5 separate regions of the Homo sapiens genome follow, and regions 1, 3, 4 and 5 are each linked to region 2. The links are contacts of gene promoters, found by promoter capture Hi-C in blood cells and fetal thymus (Javierre and others, 2016). All regions are on one chromosome and are shown on one strand. Each heading gives the region's core, a stretch centred on a gene start or on the middle of the fragment in contact. The rest is flanking DNA. Distances are from core to core; before and after follow the strand shown. Region 1 has its middle 10 kb from the start of MIR6755. Region 2 holds the start of TMEM126A (transmembrane protein 126A). Region 3 has its middle 10 kb from the start of LINC02695. Region 4 overlaps EED (embryonic ectoderm development). Region 5 has its middle 24 kb from the start of EED.

What was found. Contacts are between HindIII fragments. The CHiCAGO score rates a contact against its expected background, and 5 or more counts as called.
Region 1: a fragment that was not itself captured here is called in contact with the fragment with the promoter of TMEM126A in region 2 in 6 of 17 cell types (total CD8 T cells, M0 macrophages, naive CD4 T cells and 3 more); the score reaches 9.2 in total CD8 T cells.
Region 3: a fragment that was not itself captured here is called in contact with the fragment with the promoter of TMEM126A in region 2 in 5 of 17 cell types (non-activated CD4 T cells, naive CD4 T cells, total CD8 T cells and 2 more); the score reaches 10.8 in non-activated CD4 T cells.
Region 4: a contact is called between a fragment that was not itself captured here and the fragment with the promoter of TMEM126A in region 2, in 6 of 17 cell types (naive CD4 T cells, total CD8 T cells, non-activated CD4 T cells and 3 more). The highest score is 13.0, in naive CD4 T cells.
Region 5: a fragment that was not itself captured here is called in contact with the fragment with the promoter of TMEM126A in region 2 in 6 of 17 cell types (naive CD8 T cells, total CD4 T cells, activated CD4 T cells and 3 more); the score reaches 12.5 in naive CD8 T cells.

Annotation. Positions count from the first base shown.
Region 1 is chr11:86,287,040-86,289,739 of GRCh38, reverse strand. It overlaps a transcript of EED not described here. Among named protein-coding and RNA genes, the nearest start is that of MIR6755, 10 kb to the right of the region's middle. The HindIII fragment of the contact is 5,987 bases long and covers 1-2,700 here.
Region 2 is chr11:85,646,570-85,649,269 of GRCh38, reverse strand. It overlaps TMEM126A (transmembrane protein 126A), which reads right to left and starts at 1,303. Exons shown (of 5, transcript NM_032273.4): 1 at 1,181-1,303. RefSeq lists enhancers at 1,053-1,322, 1,493-1,542. The HindIII fragment of the contact is 2,186 bases long and covers 1-1,382 here.
Region 3 is chr11:86,202,453-86,205,152 of GRCh38, reverse strand. No RefSeq gene overlaps it. Among named protein-coding and RNA genes, the nearest start is that of LINC02695, 10 kb to the right of the region's middle. RefSeq lists enhancers at 1,942-2,442, 2,443-2,700. The HindIII fragment of the contact is 4,329 bases long and covers 1-2,700 here.
Region 4 is chr11:86,268,349-86,271,048 of GRCh38, reverse strand. It overlaps EED (embryonic ectoderm development), which reads right to left. Exons shown (of 12, transcript NM_003797.5): 9 at 2,488-2,593. Among named protein-coding and RNA genes, the nearest start is that of MIR6755, 8.6 kb to the left of the region's middle. The HindIII fragment of the contact is 6,326 bases long and covers 1-2,700 here.
Region 5 is chr11:86,219,485-86,222,184 of GRCh38, reverse strand. No RefSeq gene overlaps it. Among named protein-coding and RNA genes, the nearest start is that of EED, 24 kb to the left of the region's middle. The HindIII fragment of the contact is 1,675 bases long and covers 574-2,248 here.

The DNA.
Region 1 (2,700 bases), core at 24-2,523, 640 kb before region 2:
AGTCATATAGTGTGTTAAGCAACGGGCATTCAAAAAATAAGGAAAGGGCCAGGCGCGGTGGCTCATGCATGTAATCCAAGCACTTTGGGAGGCCAAGGCGGGTGGATCACCTGAGATCAGGAGTTCGAGACCAGCCTGACCAATATGGTGAAACCCCGACTCTATTAAAAATACAAAAATTAGCTGGGCGTGGTGGTGTGCACCTGTAGTCCCAGCTACTTGGGAGGCTGAAACAGGAGAACTTCTTGAACCCAGGAGGCAGAGGTTTCAGTGAATGGAGATCGTACCACTGCACTCCAGCCTGGGCGACAGAGTGATACTCTGTCTCAAAAAAAAAAAAAAAGGACGGGGAGGGGGGAAAGGCTCCTGTTTGAAGAGCTCTTAGTCTGGCACTGATTTTAGAGCATAGGAAACCACAAGATGTGTGCATTTCAATGAGATGCTAAAATGAGCAGGTCATTAAAGGAGGTAGAAGAGAGGCAGTAACTCAGAAAGGCAGAGCCCTTTCCAGAGGACATTTGTTTTACAAATATTAACTGAGCCCAACATCATGCATGTAGAAAGCAGCCTGACTACCTGGAAAGCCTCTACTACCAGGAAGGCAGCCTAGCAGGCTGCCTGTTCTAAACCTGGCAAGGCCACCAGAAAGAGGCATCAGACAGTGAGGGGCCCTATCAAATCCTAGTCTGTTCACAGCTGGCGTCTTGGATGTACTGGCCTTGATTATGGCCCAGAAGACTAGAAAGCACAGCCACAGACGAGAAGAGTCCTGGCAGAAAGCTGAGTCAGGCCCCAGTCTGGGACAGGAACTGCTAAATCCTAGACACAGAAGCAATTCAATAGGCGGCAGAGCTAGTGACAATTCTCTACCACTCCCACCCGTAACCTTGGACATGGGTTTGAAAGACACCAGTTAGTAACAGTGAGAAAATTTCAAGTTGACTGTGGAAAGTTGGGCTGGGCTGGGCTGAAATCAACTTTATATAATTATATCTACTTTGGGCTGTTTTGTGTTGTGCCCAGCCAATATAAAATTGCAGTTTAGCAAAACTTTTGAGAGTTTATTATTAAAATACTCCCTAAATGATTATGGTACATTCACTCTTTTCACATGTGGGAACCACTGCATAATAAAGGTCTATATAGGGCCATCACTAATACAGTGCTTTGCACACCTGGCCAATTAAATACATGAATAAATGATTCTCTCCTGTCTACTAGGAGCTAACATTTTAGAGCAAAGGCAAAAAAGTATTTTGAAGGGTCCTTCACAGAGAGTTTTGACTTCCCAAGGGTCACAAACTCTGTATTTCAGCCAGATTTACTCAGGGATTAAGGGGAATAATGCAGAACTCTTACATAAGTTATTCATTTTATTATTTTTCATTAGAGTCAGGGTCTCGCTCTGTCACCAGAGCTGGAGTGCAGTGGCGGGATCATGGCTCAAGGCTCAAGCGATCCTCCTGCCTCAGCCTTCCAAGCAGCTAAGACTACAGGCATGTGCCACCACACCTGGCTAGTTGTTTTTTGTAGAGATGGAATCTCGCTATGTTGCCAGGGCTGGTCTCAAACTCTTGGGCTCAAGTGATCTTCCTGCATCAGCCTTCTAAAGTGCTGGGATTACAGGCCTGAGCCACCATCCCCTGCAGGTTGCTATTCAGAACTGGGATTATTAAGACAATTTGCAACCAGATTCAGTAAGATAAGCCAAGCCTTTCTTATATGAAATATTAACAGTTTAAAAAGTGATTTTGCATGGCTGAGCGCGGTGGCTCATGCCTGTAATCCCAGCACTTTGGGAGGTCAAGGTCGGGAGTTCGAGACCAGCCTGACCCATATGTAGAAACCTCATCTCTACTAAAAATACAAAATTCAGGCATGGAGACGCATGCCTGTAATCCCAGCTACTCAGGACGCTGAGGCAGGAGCATCGCTTGAACCCAGGAGGCACAGGTTGCCATGAGCTGAGATTGCGCCATTGCACTCCAGCCTGGGCAACAAGAGCAAAACTCTGTCTCAAAAACAATAAATAAATAAAAAATAGTGATTTTGCAATGAAGAAAAATAATGGCCCATATAGCACAGGGTGTCAGTTCAGTGCCATACACTTCTTATGATCAATGATTTTCTGGCAACCCAGTTTATTGGTTTCGGAATTAAACACACACACTTCCCTCACTCATTATGCAGAAATGTAAGAGAAATCACCCAACAATTTTTTATTCCACATCAGCCTGGGGTACCCAAGCAAGAAAGGCAAAATGAATCTGCTTTCATTCACATGAAGTCTTGCTCTACATCAGAAAATAACCATGAAATACCAAGAATCTTTGTAGAAATCCACCAGCTCAATTCCAAAGTGATAGTCATTTTCTATAAATCACAACAGGGGAAACCCAGAGGTAACCACTGAAAGCAGGGGAAGTTACAGACTGTGGTCTCTGGTTAAAGAGAGGCCATTTAGCACTTTTTACTTATGGTTGTATTTCTCACAATGTGGGCCCCACTTCCACTACCCTTGGTAAAAGCCATCTAGACTCATTTTCCCTAGGTTACTGTGTTTCACACTGCAGGCTGAGATCCATGGGCAGGTTGTGAAATCAATTTAGTGAGTTACAACCAGCATTACAAAAAGAAAAAAAAAAAGAAATAGAAAATTTCAGAATGCATCATATTAGTAAGTATATTGTTTCATGGGAC
Region 2 (2,700 bases), core at 54-2,553:
GCTCAGGTTTCAGGGTAACAGTTAAGAAAAACAAAGGCTGGATGCAGTGGCTCACGCCTGTAATCCCAGCACCTTGGGAGGCCAAGGCAGACGGATCACCTGAGGTCAGGAGTTCGAGACCAGCCTGGCCAACATGGTGAAACTCCCTGTCTTTTAAAAATACAAAAATTAGCCAGGCACGGCGGCAGCTGCCTGTAATCCCAGCTACTCGGGAGGCTGAGGCAGGAGAATCGCTTGAACCTGGGAGGTGGAGGTTGCAGTGTGCCGAGATCTCGCCACTGCACTCCAGCCTGGGTGAGAGCGAGACTCGGTCTACAAAAAAAAAAAAAAAAACAGTTCAGGGATAACAACAAAGGAAAACATGCTTTTATGAAACCAGATTTTCTCATTTCCTACAACATTACAGGCACTCGTTTAAATATTTATTGCTACCTGTTTTATATCGATAAGAGGTCATTTGGAAATGTTGATTACCTTGACATTCCATATCTCTAGACTTAAAGCTAACCTAATAAGTACAAAGCAGCCTTAGAAATTTATGTCTAGGTTTCTGGTAGTCAAATTTTTGAGGGCCTTGGCTACGATAAGATGATAAGACACAATCTCTGCTGTACAGGAGCTCTGAATGATTTTGTGTATGGGGTGGTGAAATATATAATCAAATTTAGTATGTATATATTGTACTGAGGGCAATTAAGTCACTCAATTCAGTATAAGTGCTGACTGGGCAGCCCCTGTGGGCATTTTGTCTCCGATATTAATAACAAATATCTATCAAAGACAACGCCGCCTGTAAAAACTACAAATATTTCGAAAGATTTTTGTGTTACCTATCTCATGTCATTCTTGGAAGAGCTCTGAGAGATAGGCAGTGTGGGGCCTATCTGAAAGAGAAGTAAAGTGGGACCTCTGAAAATCAAATTTGGCCGTGGTCACCTTGTAAATTGACAGTAAACCTGGGATTAAATTCAATCTCAGGCATTTCTCCTTTCTACTGAGTTAATTTAAATATAAGGTCTTTCCTTCTAGAGTGCAAAGTGAAAAGACAGCAGGAAGAGCTAACTACACTTCTACTTGCTCTCATTTACGCGCAGCGCTGCTGGTAGCTAGCGTGTCACCGCGTCGTGCTTCTCCTGACACCGGGACATTTACTTCACCCCCTCCCCCGGAATACCAGTACCTTATGCTCTCCTCCCAGCAGCCTGTGGGTGCCTCCTCCTTCCTCAGCCACGCCGGAGTTCACTGTGGCCTTTGCTCAAATTACCTGGGCGCAGCCATCTTTGGCTGACTCGTGACGCGGCGTGGGCGGGCGCCGGGTCGCGGCTGCTAATTGGACTGCGGGACGGAGGTTGCAGCCAGCAGCGGCTTTGGGCTGAGAAGCTTCCGGCCCTAGGAGGTGCCGGGAGGCTAAGCGTTGAGGTTTGTTTGCCTGGCGTAGAGTGTGCTCGTTTCACCTACTCTTGCCTCCCAGGACAGAACTTGTAGAAATTGTGAAATTTCGAGATATAAGTTGGGTGACCCTCAGTCAGCCTCTTCCATTGAAAACGTACCTCGGGCATATTACTTAACTTCCTGGTCAGTAGAGCCTACTTACGTTCTTGGCATGGGGTAAATGAAAACTGCACAGCTCTTGGCATATGATAGCTACTCAGGTTAAAAATAAGTCAAAGGTGAGCTATTTCTTGGCTCTATCGATTTTCTACTCTCCCTAGGAACTTAAGCTCCCTGTGCCATGTTTTGATCTGTATTGATTGCCCTACCATAATCAGCACCTCAGAGCTGCAGCTTATTTTTCTGAGGATTTCTCGTGTTCTCCAGAGTACTGCTTATTTGGAAGCAGTGTTGGGTGAAAGTCATCTTATTTCTTCTTGCTTTTTAAGTATAAATACTAGAAAATTTAGAATTATATATGTGGCTTGCATTATATTTCTATTGGACAGTGCTGTTCAGAAGGTACCTCTAATGCTCTCCTCCCAGCAGCCAGTGGATGCCTCACCAGGTCTTCCTCAGCCATGCTGGGGCTCCCTGCAACCTTTGCTCAGTTCGCTTGGACTAATTAACCCAATAGAAGGGAAAAATGCCTACAATTGAATTTTATCTTAACTCCATTAAGATTAGCAGGTAAACATTGTGCCAAAAAATATATAACTAACTGTAGCAATAAATACATGATCATAACACATTATCAGAAATCTTAATTATTCTCATCCTCTCAAATTTCTGAACAAGTGATAAAGTGTTGCATTGTCCAGATAATTTTTATACTGTCTCTCCATTGCAGGGTTGCTTGACCATTAGGCTCCATAGTGCCAAGAAGTCTGTAATTGCAGTTTCTAAACTTGCACAAATAGAAAGACTTATTTTCACGAAGGTGTACAAGAAGGAAAATTCCTAGTCTTTTTTTTATTTTTATTTTTTATTTTTTAGACAGAGTTTTGCTCTCGTCGGCCAGGCTGGAGTGCAATGGCCTGATCTCAGCTCATTGCAACTTCTGCCTTCCAGGTTCAAGCGATTCTCCTGCTTCAGCCTCCAGAGTAGCTGGGATTACAGGCGTGTGCCACCACGCCCAGCTGATCAGCTGATTTTTTTTTTTGTTTTTGAGACTGAGTCTCGTTCTGTCACCCAGGCTGGAGTGTAGTGGTGTGATTTCGGCTCACTGCAAGCCCCGCCTCCTGGGTTCACAGCATTCTCCTGCCTCAG
Region 3 (2,700 bases), core at 88-2,587, 560 kb before region 2:
AGAGTTAAAAGAGCAACAACAGGCCCTATCACTCTTCTGCTTAAAATACTTGGATAGCCTTAGGTCCAAATCAGTTCAAAATATTCCTTTACCATCCAGACACTGGCTCAAGGAGCTCAAAAAGGGAAAAGGTGGCTTTAAAATACTGAGCTGTGGCTGGGTGTGGTGGTTCATGCCTGTAATCCCAGCACTTTGGGATGCTGAAGAAGGTAGATCACCTGGGGCTAAGAGTTTGAGACCAGCCTGGCCAACATGGTGAAACCTCATCTCTACTAAAAATACAAAAAATTAGCTGGGTGTGGTGGTGCACACCTGTAGTCCCAGCTACTCGGGAGGCTGAGGCATGAGAATTTCTTGAACCCAAGAGGTGAAGGTTGCAGTGAGCTGAAATTGCGCCACTGCACTTCAGCCTGGGCAGCAGACTGAACACTCTGTCTGAACAACAGCAACAACAAAAAGATGCTAAGCTGTGCCTCTGACCCTGCATTTTTTCCTCTTTGCTATGTCTTAGTACTTTCTGGTCATGTTTCATATTAATTATTTCTGGTTTCCTGTCAGCTTTGAATTAATCCTAGCTTTGTCCCCTGGGCCCTCACTTTCAGATCCTCTCAGTTCTATTCCATGCATATTATGGGGAGTGTCTTACCCTACCCATAACCACACCCAGCTTCTGTAAGTATAATCCCAGAATGGCATCTGAGACCCCACTTGCCTGGCAGAGGAGTTTCGATGTGTTCCATAGCTTTGATGTTACTATTCCTTACTTTAAGACACAAGATGCTTTTAGATCTGACACATGTTCATTTCACTAGCTTGTCTCCTGCCATTCCTCAACTAGGATGTTATGGATCTGTCCTATTGAATTTCTTGAGCAGTTTCTGGAGCATGTAATTTTATTTCCCATCTCAGTTTTTGCACATGGCACATTTCCTTCTCATAAAAACCCTTGCTCCACCATCCCCAATTCTCCAGCTATCTCCTCCTCTTAACCTCAAAGCTAGTTTCAGGGGTCGCATCTCCCAAGAAGTTCCAATCTCACTTAGATGCTTCTCCTTTAGGCTACAGTGTTTATGGCACAGTAGCAATTGCTTTACTTATGTGTCTCCCCCCTGCTCCCAGATTTTGAAAGAGGTTACCACATTTTATTCGACTTTTTTTTTTTTTTTAAACAGAGTGTCACTCTGTCACCCAGGCTGGAGTGCAGTGGTGCCAGCTTGGCTCACTGCAATCTCTGCCTCCCGGGTTCAAGTGATTCTTATGCCTCAGCCTCCCAAGTAGCTGGGATTAAAGGTGGGTGCCACCACACTTTGTATTTTCAGTAGAGACAGGGTTTCGCCATGTTGCCCAGTCTGGTCTAGCATTCCTGAACTCAGGCCATCTGCCAGCCTTAGCCTCCCAAAGTGCTGGTACTGCAGGCATGAGCCACCATGCCCAACCTTTTATTAGACTTTCTATCCTATCCCTAGCCTATGATAGGGACTCATTAAGTGACTATTGAGTAAATCAGTGAATGAATGAATTAATGAATAAGTGAATATATTGCCTAATACGTCTACTTAAAGCCTCTTAGAAAGCAGGTGTGGTATGAATTGTAAACAAACAATAGTACTACAATCTTAATATGGAGGGTGAAAAATAGAAAGGTCTTCAACAGATAATATTTTTTTCTATTTATATATGTTCCTTTTTTTCTAGATATGAGCAAAAGTCTGAGTGCCAATTGCTGAATCAAGATTTACCCAAATGTTACCAAAACCAATGGCAAGTTAGTCAAATTTAGGACTCATCAGTGAGTTAACAATTATTGAGTATCTATTATGTGCACATCACTGTTTATAAGGATGTTGTGATTTAGTGAGGGAGCATATACAAAAATAACCCTGAGGAAGGGCAGACTGTAATAATCAGATTAGAGACTCAAACCACATTCTGTGGGATTCAAATGGAAAAAAAGATTAATTCTTATTAGAAGTAATGAAGTCAACAATGTATGGGGTGGGCACAGGCTGTGAAAATCAGGACAACCAGCTAATTAATGTTGCACAGAATAAATGGTGAATTGCATAACATCTATTGCTTGTCAGCTGGTTGTTTTGCTCTACAACTGCCTTAACCTCTGAGTGACATGGAAGTGAGAAAAAGAAGGAAGTGCAGCAGGACTCAAAGGGGAAGAAATGACTCTTGCTAAAGAAGGAAGAGAAGTGGAACCAACCACAGGGAGGAGAGATGGGGTAAAAATTGCTTTGAGGCCGGGCGCAGTGGCTCACGCCTGTAATCCCAGCACTTTGGAAGGCCGGCCAAGGCGGGCGGATCACGAGGTCAGGAGATGGAGACCATCCTGGCTAACACGGTGAAACCCCGTCTCTACTAAAAAAAATACAAAAAATTAGCAGGGCGTGGTGGCGGGCGCCTGCGGAGGCTGAGGCAGGAGAATGGTGTGAACCCGGGAGGCGGAGCTTGCGGTGAGCGGAGATCGCGCCACTGCACTCCAGCCTGGGCGACAGAGGGAGACTCCGTCTCAAAAAATAAAATAAAATTGTTTTGATTCCGTTGTAGCATTTCCTTGAGTCTCTTCAGTTCTAAGAATAGGGAAAGGAAGAAAAGAAGAGAGCCTGTCATGGAACCAAAGGAAGACAGCATCAAAATAAGGAGAAAAGAGCAAAGAAGCAGAAACAACTTGGAATTATGCCACAGAATTAT
Region 4 (2,700 bases), core at 107-2,606, 620 kb before region 2:
TAGAAATGTAGAAAAGATTATTCTAAAATTTACACACAGAAAGACAAAGGAATTAGAATAGCTCAAAACAATTATGAAAAAAATAAAAGCGGGAAAAATCTATCAGATTCCAAGAATAATTATAGAGCTACAATAATGAGGACTGTGTATGTAGTACTGGTGGAGGGACAGATATACAGATGAAACAGAACAGGAAAATCAAAAACAGCCCCACGTAAGTACAGCCAAACAATTTCTGAGAGAGGTGCAAAAGCAATTCAATGGCGGAAGAATAGTCTTCCAACAAATGCTGATGGAACAACTGAGTATCTATAAGAGAAAAATGAACTTCCACCTAAACCTCGCACCTTCATAAGGAAATCAACTCAAAATGGATTACACATTTAATGTAAAACATAGCAGTATAAAACTTTTACAAGAGAACACAGGAGAAAATCTTTAAGGTCTATAGCTTGGTAAGGAGTTCTCAGGCAAAACATCAAAAGCATAATCCATAAAATAATTTTAAAAAATCAATATACTGGATTTAATAAAAACTACAAACATTTGCTCTGTGAAAGACCCTATTAAAGAGGATGAAATGACAAGCTACAGACTGAAAGAAAATATTTGCAAACTATGTATCTGATACAGGATTCATATTTAGAATATATTCAAACTCTCAAAACTCAACAGTTAAAAAAAAAAAAAAAACACAACAAAAAACCAATCCAATTAGAAAATGAGCAAAAGATATGAAAAGACATCACCAAAAAGGATATACGAATGGTAAATAAGCACATGAAAAAGATGTTCAACATCACTAGCCATCAGGGAAATGCAAATTAAGACCACGATGAGATATCACTACACACCTATCAGAACAGCTAAAATAAAAAATAATGACAATACCAAATGCTGGCGAAGATTCGGAGACACTGGATCTCTCATACATTGCTGGTGGGAATGTAAAATGGCACGGCCACTCTGGAAAATAGTTTGGCAGTTTCTTAAAAAACTAAACAAACTTAACCACAACCCAGCAATTGCCCTCCTAGGCATTTACCCAGAGAAATGAAAACTTAAGTCCACACAAAAACCTGGACACAACTGCTGATTAGCAGCTTTATTTGCAATAGCCCAGAACTGGAAATGACCAAAACCTCCTACCATAGATAGTTACATAAACTATGGTAATCCATACCATGGAATACTACTCAGCAATAAAAAAGGAGAACTACTGATACAGGCAACAACCTGGATGGATCTCAAGGGTTTGAGTGGAAAAAAACAATCTTAAAAGGTCCCAAACTGTACCATTCTTGAAATGACAAAATTCACGTGATAAAATGACATAAAACTAAACACACACATTGTACCAGTGTCAATTTTCTGGATTTGATATTGTATTACAGTTATATAATATATAAACTTTGGATTCTGGATAAAGATCATATGGGACCTCTCTGCACAATCTTTGAAACATCCTATGAATCAAGTTATTTGAAGGTCAAAAGTTTAAAGAAAAAAGAAAAAAACAGTTTACACATAAAGCCAAGAAAAAAGTAAATCAGGCTCTGCCCAAGAAAATGTGAAGTGGCCTGAAATTCACATCAAGAAAAGAAACCGGACAGCAATTTCACCAAATTTGATAATCCTAAATGCTCATGTAACATCACCAATAGCTTCTCTAAATTATCAGCTACAAAAAAATACACAGACACACAAACACACACACACACACACCCAGATGGCCTTGACTTACAATGGTCTGATTTACAATTTTTCAACTTTACCAAAATGGTACAAAACAGCTGCAATTTTGAAGTACTTGGAATTTTGAATTTTGATCTTTTCCTGGGCTAGCAGTATGCAGTATGTGAGATATTCAATGCTTTATTATAAAACAGGCTTTGTGTTAGATAATTTTGCCCAACTGTAGGCTAATTCTGAGCACATTTAAGATAGGCTGGGCTAAGCTGATATTCAGTAGGTTATGTGTATTAAATGCGTTTTCAATTTATGATGGGTTTATCACGATGTAATCCCATCATAAGTTGAGGAGCATCTGTATAAATCCATCAACAGGGGCAGGGGTTGGCAAACTACAGCCCATAAGCCAACTCCAGCCACCTGTTTTTATAAATAAAATTTTACTAAAATAGTCACAGAGATACAAAAAAACAAAAGCCAATTCTGTTGGCTTTAGTTACTGGTTATCTTGTAACAATACTGACTATCAGAGAATACTATCACCTTATAAAACTATACTCATCTTACTGGAGCACAAAGAATTATAATTCAATGGCATGTTTTATTCTTAAAACAAGTTTCTAAATATATCAAAATATGAGACTTTAAAAAAGGCAACTTCCCAGCTGCCATTCAATTTAATAAACTACATAAAGTGCTCCCTGCCAAGTTCCAACATGCGCACACACATACACACACACACACACACACACACACACACACGATGGAAGTACAGCTTAACTGCAGTTACCATACCTTAGAAAGTATCAAATCGCCTAACCATCGCACACAATCAACATAATTCCTATGTATGTCTCTGGTAGAAAAATCAGGAAAATGGATTTTCTGAGAAATAAATGGCCTGAAGGAAGAATGGAAATGTAAAAAGTTAAAAGAAAAAATTATAGTAGAATCATACTCTTTTTCATTTTTGGATTTATAAAACTTGGAAAAACAAAATGTAAGACT
Region 5 (2,700 bases), core at 162-2,661, 570 kb before region 2:
AGGAGGAGAGAGGGGTTGGAGATGAAATTTGTTTACCATTTCCCAATGATTTAATCAACCATGCCTATGTAATGAAACCTTCACAAAAACCCCCTAAACAATGGGGTTTAGGGAGCTTCCAGGATGGTGAACACCCAACGTACTGGGAGGGTGGTGCACCCCAGCTCCACGGGGACAGATGCTCCTGCACATTCCCTTCTGAATCTCACCTTATATACTTCTCCATCTGGCTGTTCATTTGTATCCTTTATAATAAACCAGTAAACATAAGCAAAGTGCCTTTTTAAGTTGTGTGAGCTTTCTAGCAAATTGTCAAACATGAGGAGGGGGTCAAAGGAACCCTGATTTACAGCTGGTTAGTCAGAAGTACTGGTGGCCCAAAACTTGCAAACAGCATTTGAAGTGGGGGCAGTCTTGTAGGACTGAACCCTTTGAATTATGGGATCTGATGCTAACTCCAGGTAGATAATGTCAGAAATTAATTGAATTGTTGGACAGTCAATTGATGTCAGAGAGCTGAAGAAGTGATGTTGGAAAAGATACCATATGTTTGTTGTCAGGAGGGAAAAAGCTTTCATGCCGTTTCACAAAATTCTCAAACCTGTCGGATTCTGTCGTTGATGATTAGCAATACTGATAAGTTACTTTAAGCAGTTCCTTCAAATCCATGTTTCAATTTGGTTTACCCTACTGCCTTTTATGCAAAAATATTAATTTGCTCTGCTAATATTGAAATCGTACTATGTACCAGGTTTTATCCTAGAGAATAATGGTGAGCAAAACCAGATATAAGTCTCTATTTTCATGAGTCTGCTAGTGGAAACAGATGCCCATCAAAAAATCACATATACAGATACATTTACAACTATGTTAAATACTATGGATGAGAGGTTTATGATGTTGTGATTGTTCTCAAAAGAAAGATCATGAAACACTTTCCTGAGGAAGCTGAAATCTGAAGAACCATAAAAGGTCAACTAAGTGAGAATATGGGAATGGGTAAACTTAGATCTTGCATCTTGCAAAGACTTCTGGGACTGGAGTTTCTTATCTTTACCCTCCTATCTCAGCACCCTCCTCTTGTAGATCCCCCCCCCACTCCCCCACACAATTTCACTTCTATTAAGAGCCTCTCAGAATATACTCAGAACAGCATCAGAGGAAAACATTAAATAAAGTTTTTTAACAGATAATAGTATTAGATGTTCAATAAAGAAAGGCTCCTAGCTTCTTATAATTGAGTGCTGGTGTCCTAATCAGCTTCCTCCTCAAATCCTACACTGATGCCCAACTGGGTGTAACTGGTGTTCACCCAGTGAGGGCCTCAGTGATTATGAAAATAAGAGAGCTATGAGCCAAGACTGGTGGACCACAGTGGAGCAACTTACTTTGCTGACTGGAGTACAGCATGTCTTCACAGAGATTTAAAATAGGTTTTGGAGGGTAGAATAGGAGGGAGGACTTCCAGGAGAAGGAAACAGCACCCACAAAAACACAGACGAGTGAAAGAACACCATGTTTTTGCAGGAATGGCAGGTAGTTTAGACTTCTTTTAAGTAAGTCAGGAAAACATCCTGATAAAATAGTGAAATTAAATCAGTTTTTAGAAAAATAAAGAACTAAAGTTTAGTAAATGTGAAAAGTCCCACAAATAGAACTCCTTATTCCTTTAAAATCACGGATACAAAAGTTGTTCCTACACATATTAATCTGAACATCTGCAATTGTCATAGGTTCCAAAAACTTTAGTTTAATTCTCCAGAATCTCCTAATATCTTATTTAAAGTCATTCTCCTTTTTTTTTTTTTTTTTTTTGAGACGGAGTCCAGCTCTGTCGCCCAGGCTGGAGTTCAGTGGCGCCATCTCAGCTCACTGCAACCTCTGCCTCCCGGGTTCACACCATTCTCCTGCCTCAGCCTCCGGAGTAGCTGGGACTACAGGCGCCCGCCATTACGCCTGGCTAATTTTTTGTATTTTTAGTAGAGAGAGGGTTTCACTGTGTTAGCCAGGATGGTCTCGATCTCCTGACCTTGTGATCCACCCGCCTCAGCCTCCCAAAGTGCATTCTCCTTTTTGATTGGCATCACCTGCTGCCTTTCTCCTTTCTCACTGTATTTAGAGCAATCTTTGCCAAATGATTTTTGTGTCTTTCCAGACCATGATGTGGTTGACTAAGAATTTGTTTAAGCCTAACTATTTTTCAGTTCTTCATTTGACTCAAAAAGTAGTTTGTTGTAGAATAGAAGCTTCCCCTTGAAACAGCATATGGCAAGACCTGGAATTAAAAATAGACTTAACCACTGAAAAATTCTTCCATAAAATTAAATTAAATACGTAGTACAATTCTCTTTTACCATGTTATCCTCAATGGATAAAGATGAACTTTTCTCCTTATTAAAATTGAGAATGTTGCAGAATATTTCCATTATGTGCGAAGAAAAGAGGAACTGGCACTTATTAGCACACATAGTATGCCAGTCTCTGTGACAGGTGCAATCTGAGCGCCATCCTACCACTATGCTTGAATAGAGAGATGGTCATACAATGTCAACATGGTAATAAACTTCAGAGGTCATATAACCCACTGCTTTGGTTCTTTAGAGAAAACGCTGAGGCCCAGAGAGTAGGTTAGTGATCATTCAGTTCATTAAAAACCAAATGGGACTTGAGCTGAGTTTTCTGACACTTAGTCAGTGTTCT